Regions from separate parts of the Homo sapiens genome. Here region 2 is linked to region 1. The links are contacts of gene promoters, found by promoter capture Hi-C in blood cells and fetal thymus (Javierre and others, 2016). All regions are on one chromosome and are shown on one strand. The core of a region is centred on a gene start or on the middle of the fragment in contact, and the rest is flanking DNA. Distances in the headings are between cores, read along the strand shown.

Region 1 (3,287 bases), core at 44-2,543:
AGGACAGAACGTGTTAGTGCCAAAACGGGGAGGGAAGGAGGGCGCTCACCTTCCACCACACCGCAGAGGAACCGCCGAGCCCCTCCTGCAGCCCCGGCCACCGCCGCTCCCCCAGCCCCGGCGGGGTTGTCTTCTCCGGGTGCCGGAGCTGCCGGCGGCTCCAGCGATGCCCCCGCAGAGGCGGCAGGGTTGGAGCTGAGCTCGCTCTCCCGCTCCTCCAACGTCGCTTGACTCTCCTTCTGCACCATCCTCCTGCCCCCGGCCGCTGCCACCTCTGCGGGTCCTCCTCGACCTCTGTCCGTTGGGGCACCGGCCCGGAGCCCTGGAGAGGGCTTCAGCTCCAAGTGTGCGCCCCTCCGGCTCCTTCCCCTCCCCCTCTGCCCTTCCCCCTCCCTCTCCGCAGGGACCCGAATGCCCGGATGAGAAGGGCGGCGGCACCGGCGCGAGCCCTTTGTCAGCCGCAGCCTCGGCTTTAAGCTGGGGCGCCAGAAGCCTAAGCGGAGAGCGAGGCTGTGACCTCTCGTTCCCTGGAAGAAGACGGCCAAGGGTCCTGTCCTCGTTCTCTGCCTCTGCTGCCCTCCCGATAATCTTAGGTCTTCCGCTGTTTCCCCTCCAAGCCCCGAGCTCTCCCTCTGCTGCTGCCTCCACCGCCCGCTTCCTGTTTATCCGCACTGCGCTTGCGCTGCAGACCGGCTCAGACCGGTCCCCTCCGCCCGGCTCCCCCGCCTTCTTTGGGGCTAGCCTATTAAGCTTCTTTAGGTAGGGGGAAATAGAACAGGAGACGCGAAAAGCAGAAGGTAATGAAGGCAGTGGAATGTACCATTTCTGCTTGCCACCCTCCGAAACAAGCCTGGCACCCTGGGACGGACGGACCATTACCCGCCCCGAAGGAGGGGAGTATGGGAGGAGGCTGCCGCCGGTTGGGGCAATAGGGAGAAGGGGGGAAGGTGAAAAGGAGAGGTGTTTATTCTCTCAGTGCGCAGGCGCGGAGCCGCGGCCTCTCGTTCTTAAAGAGATAGGAAAGAACTGACCTACTTTCTATGGAGATTCTTGTAATAGGTGGGCTCATTACATCTGCCTAACCCAGGCTTGGTTCGGTAAAGACACCATTCCAAGGAGCTCAGCTCACCCCTCTGCCTTGAATCATTTTCCCCTAATCCCATTTAAAATGTAATCATTCGTTCATTCCTTCATTCAGTAGACATCTATAGAGCTTGCCTCGTGCTGGGCTCTAGAACACTATGAGCTCACAGTACGGTGGTGGAGACAAGCCACCACACACGCAGTTCCCACAAGGTGTCCCCAAGAACTTCGGAGCTCAGAACAGGTGATACTCACTCCTCCTTTGGGGAGAGGCCGTGGGCATGGCTTCACTTTTCAGCTGGATTATAAAGGATGTGAAGTTAGCCTGACTGAGCAGAAGGGGAGGGAAGACAGCACTCCAGGAAAGTGGAACGAACAACAGAGTCCAAAGGTAGGGAGGCATGAAAAGCCTGCCTTGTTTGGGAATGGGGAGCGCGCGGTGTGTGCAGTGGGGCATGAGATCCCTTCGGCCTCGGCATGGGCATCGCTTCCTTGGGAAGCCTTCCCTGAGCCCTAGATGGGTTTGGGTCTCCTTGCTGTATGTTCTCAGAGCTCTCTTGTAGACCTACCCTAATGCACTTTACATTTATGATGCTTGAGAAATCTATCTCAACCTGTGAGGTATAAACATGAAATGATGATTAAGACTTAGTAATGTCCATCTTACACTTCAGTCTGATATTTACCTTCTTTAGCCGTAGCCCAACTTGTAGTTTCAGGGACTTTCATGGTCCCTCTTCTTTTCAGTCCTGGATTGTTGAGATGGGGGTTAGGAGCAAACTTTTTTTTTTTTTTTGAGACAGAGTTTCACTCTGTCGCCCAGGCTGGAGCGCAGGAGCGCAGTGGCGCAATCTCGGCTCACTGCAGCCTTCACCTCCTGGGCTCAGGCTATTCTCCTGCCTCAACCTCTCGAGTAGCTGAGACTACAGGCACCCGCCACCACACCCGGCTAATTTTGTGTTTTTAATAGAGACGGGGTTTCGCCACGTTGACTAGGCTAGTCTTGAACTCCTGACCTCAGGTGATCCACCTGCCTCGGCCTCCCAAAGTGCTGGGATTACAGGTGTGAGCCACCGCGCCCGGCCGGACAAGCATTTTCTTAAGGGACCTCCTGTGCTGAGAGTTAGGGGCCATAGCAGCTTTACTGGATATTGTGGTCCGTTGGGGTTGAGAACACAATTTTTTTTTTTTTTTTTTTTTTGTAAGAGAAGAGGTCTCATTTTGCCACGCAGGCTAGTGCAATCATAGCTTAAGTATCGAATTCCTGGGCTCTCAAGGGATCTTCCCGCCTTAGCCATCCCGAGTAGCTGGGACTATAGGCGAGTGCCCGCCACCACACTCTTTTAATTTGTTCATTTTTGGTAGAGACGGGGGTCTCAACATCTTGCCCAAGCTGGTCTCAAACTCTTGGGCTCAGGTGATCCTCCAGTCTCAGCCTCCCAAAGTGCTGGGATTACAGACACGTGCCACCTCACCTGGCCGAAAAGAACTTTTATCTGAGGAATGAGAGTCCTTTTAAATTATCAGGCCCAGATGGCTGGGCGCAGTGTTGGTGTTTGCAACCAGCCTGGGCAATATTGCCAGACCCAGTCTTTATAAAAAAATAAAAATAGGCCGGGCGTGGTGGCTCACACCTGTAATCCCAGCACTTTGGGAGGCCGAGGCAGATGGATCACCTGAGGTCGGGAGTTCGAGACCAGCCTGACCAACATGGAGAAACCCCGTTTCTACTAAAAATACAAAATTAGCTGGGCATGGTGGCAGATGCCTGTAATCCCAGCTACTCGGGAGGCTGAGGCAGGAGAATCACTTGAACCCGGGTTGCGTGAGCCGAGATCGTGCCATTGCACTCCAACCTGGGCAACAAAAGCTAAACTCCATCTCAAAAAAAAAACAAAAAAAAAAAAAAAAAAAAAAAGCCAGGCGTAGTGGTGTGCACCTGTAGTGCTAGGATCTCACCACTGCACTCCAGCCTGAGCCACAGAACAAGACCCTGCCTCTAAAAAAAAAAAAATTAAAAAATAAATAAATCTTTAAAAATTAAAAATAAATAAATAGGCCCAGCGAGGCATTAAAATGACAGAATCAGCCGGGCTCAGTGGCTCACGCCTGTAATCCCAGCACTTTGAGAGGCCAAGGCGGGCAGAAAGTCAGGAGTTCAAGAATAGCCTGGCCATCATGTTGAAACTCCGTCTCTACTAAAA
Region 2 (3,110 bases), core at 17-2,516, 1.6 Mb after region 1:
TTACTTTTCAGAGCCTCAGTTTCCCCTTGCTTGAAAGGAAATTAAGGGTGAAATTATCAGCAAACTAGACCCCCCAAACTTTCCTGTTTCTATGAATCATATACCCATCCCTGATTCCATATCCTTGGCCCCACCCGGTCATCACTTCTTTAGTCTAAAGCCCTTGTAGAGTCTTATTACCAAGTGTCTGTCAGAACTAACCTCTCCTGTCTTCTGTTTTCACTTATACCCAGTTCTGGTTCTCATGGTTTCTCTGCTGTACTGCATTTGAATCCTTTTTTTTTTTTTTTTTTTCTGTCACTGAGATAACAGGAAACAGTGCATTTGAATCCTTCTACCGAATTTACTTGCCTTCAATACTGTCTCTCTTCATGTCCAATCTATAGCCTGCAGTATATTTTTCTTGCTTACTGTTCTCTCGCTTTCCCTGCTTAAGTCTCTGACTTGCCAAAGCAAACTACCCATATCTAATTCAAGGTCTTCCACAAAAAAGCCCAACTTCTCCTTTAATTTTTTTGAGACAGAGTCTCACTTTGTCTCCCAGGTTGGAGTGCGGCGGCATGATCTCAGCTCACTGCAACCTCCGCCTCCCGGCCTCAAGCAATTCTCACGCTTCAGCCTGCCTAGTAGCTGGGACTAGGCGCAGGCCACCACGCCCGGCTAATTTTTGCGTTTTTGGTAGAGACGGGGTTTCGCCATGTTGACTATGCTGGTCTCGAACTCCTGACCTCAGATGATCCACGCGCCTCGGGCTCCCGAAGTGCTGGCATTACAGGTGTGAGCCATGGTGCCCGGCCTTCTTTAAAATTTAACTTCAATTTTTATGCTTTAATCTCCCAGTGGTCTAGTTGAATAATTCCTCAGAGACAACAGCAAGCCTTTGAGCAGTTGTTTGATAGGGAAATTGCTGGTGTTTATTGAAATAATAGGCTTTTCCCATCCATGTCTTTTCTCACATTCCCTTTCTACCTGTCAAGCTTCTGTTCATCTTTTACCCTTAAGCTAAAAAAGATCTTCTTTATGAAGCTTGCCTCCTTTACTTATCCCTTCCTACATTGCCTTATCCCTTCCTACATCTTTGTGATCATTTATAATCTGATTTGCATTTTAAGTTACTTGCATAATTGTTTTATCTTCCAAAAAGTGTGCATGTTCTTTGAAGGCAGAGGATTATATATTCATCTGTAGAGCTACAGTGTATCTCTGACTTAACTGTAGCTTCTTAGTGAGTATGTGCTACATTGAATCTATAACTTCTTTTTCTGGAAGAAGGTGGGTGGACTTGTGGTTTTGAAGCAGAGACCTTTGGAAAGATGAAGTATGGATTATTCCGGGCCTGACATCTAAACCATCTATGTTGTAGTCCTGAATGTTGTCTAGCATATTGCTGGAACGTTCTGTCTCTTGCCCGTTGATAACACCTTTCTGAAATCTGCTACCAAGACAACATGTCACCATTATCCTTTGCATTGTTTTTAGGAGACCCAAACATGGCAAACCTGGAAGAAAGCTTCCCCCGAGGAGGTACAAGAAAGATCCACAAACCAGAGAAAGCTTTCCAGCAGTCAGTTGAACAAGACAACTTATTTGATGTAAGTAGTATGCTTGTTTGGTGACACTCACTGGAAACTTTTACTGTAGTGTCTTGTGAAAAATGAGCCTTATTTGAGAATGTGTTATTTTTCCAGATTTTTTTTGCATTGAAGTCTACTTCTATAAATTTAACTCATTTAGAGAGGCCATACCACCACAAGGCTGTATCTTTTGAAGCTTGGCATTTAGTATTAAAGTACTGTTATTAGCTGGGCGTAGTGGCTCATGCCTGTAATCCCAGCAGTTTGGGAAGCCGAGGCAGGCGGATCACTTGAGGCTAGGAATTCAAGAGCAGCCTGGCCAACATGGTGAAACCCCGTCTATACTAATACCAAAACTAGCTGGGCATGGTAGTATACCTGTAGTCCTAGCTACTTGGGAGGCTGAGGCATGAGAATTGCTTGAACCAAGAAGGTGGAGGTTGCACTGACCCAATATTGTGCCACTGCTCTCCTGCCTGGGCGACAGAGTGAGACTCTGTCTCAAAAAACACACAAACAAAATAAATAAAGTGCTGTTCCTTGTTCTTAGACACTCTTTGCCATGTGCCATGTTGATTAAGGATGGAGAGGAAGCAGTTTTTTTTTTTTTTTTTTTTTTGAGACGAAGTCTTACTCTGTTGCCCATGCTGAAGTGCAGTGGCGTGAGTAGCTGGGATTACAGGTGCCTGCTACCATACCTGACTAATTTTTGTATTTTTGTTAGAGATGGGGTTTCACCATGTTGGCCAGGCTGGTCTGAAACTCCTGACCTCAGATGATCTGCTCACCTTGACCTCCCAAAGTGCTGGGATGGCAGGTGTGAGCCACTGCACCCAGCTGATGTTTTTGTTATTTTTGTTGTTGTTTTTTCAAGAGATGGGGAGAGATGATGTTTCACTCTGTTACTCAGGCTGGACTTAAACTCCTGGGCTCAGTCGATCCTCCCTCCTTAGCCTCCTGAGTAACTGGAACAACAGGCATGTTCCACTGTGTCTGACTGATCATTGCATTTTTACAGGGGTTCCTTGCCACATGTAATGGTCAGAATTTGCATTAGACTTCACAGTCTCACCTAGACTAGGCTGTGCTCCAAATGCTTGGGGAAAGGGAACTAACATTTGAGTGTGTGGCTTTAGGTCTGTATTATGTAATCTTTTCAACTGTACTGTGAAGCACTGATTGCAATTCCATGATGAGGAACAGTGTCTTGCTCTGTCGCCCAGGCTGAAGTGCAGTGTTGTGATCTCAGCTCACTGCAACCTCCACTTCTTGGTTCAAGCAATTCTCCTGTATCAGCCTCCCGAGTACCTGGGACTATAGGTGCGTGCTGCCATGCTCGGCTTAATTTTTTTGTATTTTTAGTGGAAAAAAAAATACAGCCTGTTGGCCAGGCTGGTCTTGAACTCCTAATCTCAAGTGATCTTCCCGCCTTGGCCTCCCAAAGTGTTGGGATTACTGGTGTGAGCCACTGTGCCTGGATTTTATATAATTTAGCTGAAACCACATAGCTTGTTATGGTGGAAAAGATGAGAATTT

What was found. The method cuts DNA at HindIII sites, captures the fragments that hold promoters and counts their contacts. A CHiCAGO score of 5 or more calls a contact.
Region 2: a contact is called between a fragment that was not itself captured here and the fragment with the promoter of KCNIP2-AS1 in region 1, in 1 of 17 cell types (monocytes). The highest score is 5.1, in monocytes.

Annotation. Positions count from the first base shown.
Region 1 is chr10:101,817,775-101,821,061 of GRCh38, forward strand. It overlaps KCNIP2-AS1 (KCNIP2 antisense RNA 1), which reads left to right and starts at 1,294. Exons shown (of 3, transcript NR_045118.1): 1 at 1,294-1,474. It overlaps OGA (O-GlcNAcase), which reads right to left and starts at 670. Exons shown (of 16, transcript NM_012215.5): 1 at 50-670. The coding sequence starts at 248. RefSeq lists enhancers at 203-778, 580-699 and silencers at 230-289, 370-429. The HindIII fragment of the contact is 3,022 bases long and covers 749-3,287 here.
Region 2 is chr10:103,396,937-103,400,046 of GRCh38, forward strand. It overlaps PDCD11 (programmed cell death 11), which reads left to right. Exons shown (of 36, transcript NM_014976.2): 2 at 1,480-1,592. The coding sequence starts at 1,491. Among named protein-coding and RNA genes, the nearest start is that of PDCD11, 1.9 kb to the left of the region's middle. RefSeq lists enhancers at 174-675, 676-1,176. The HindIII fragment of the contact is 484 bases long and covers 1,025-1,508 here.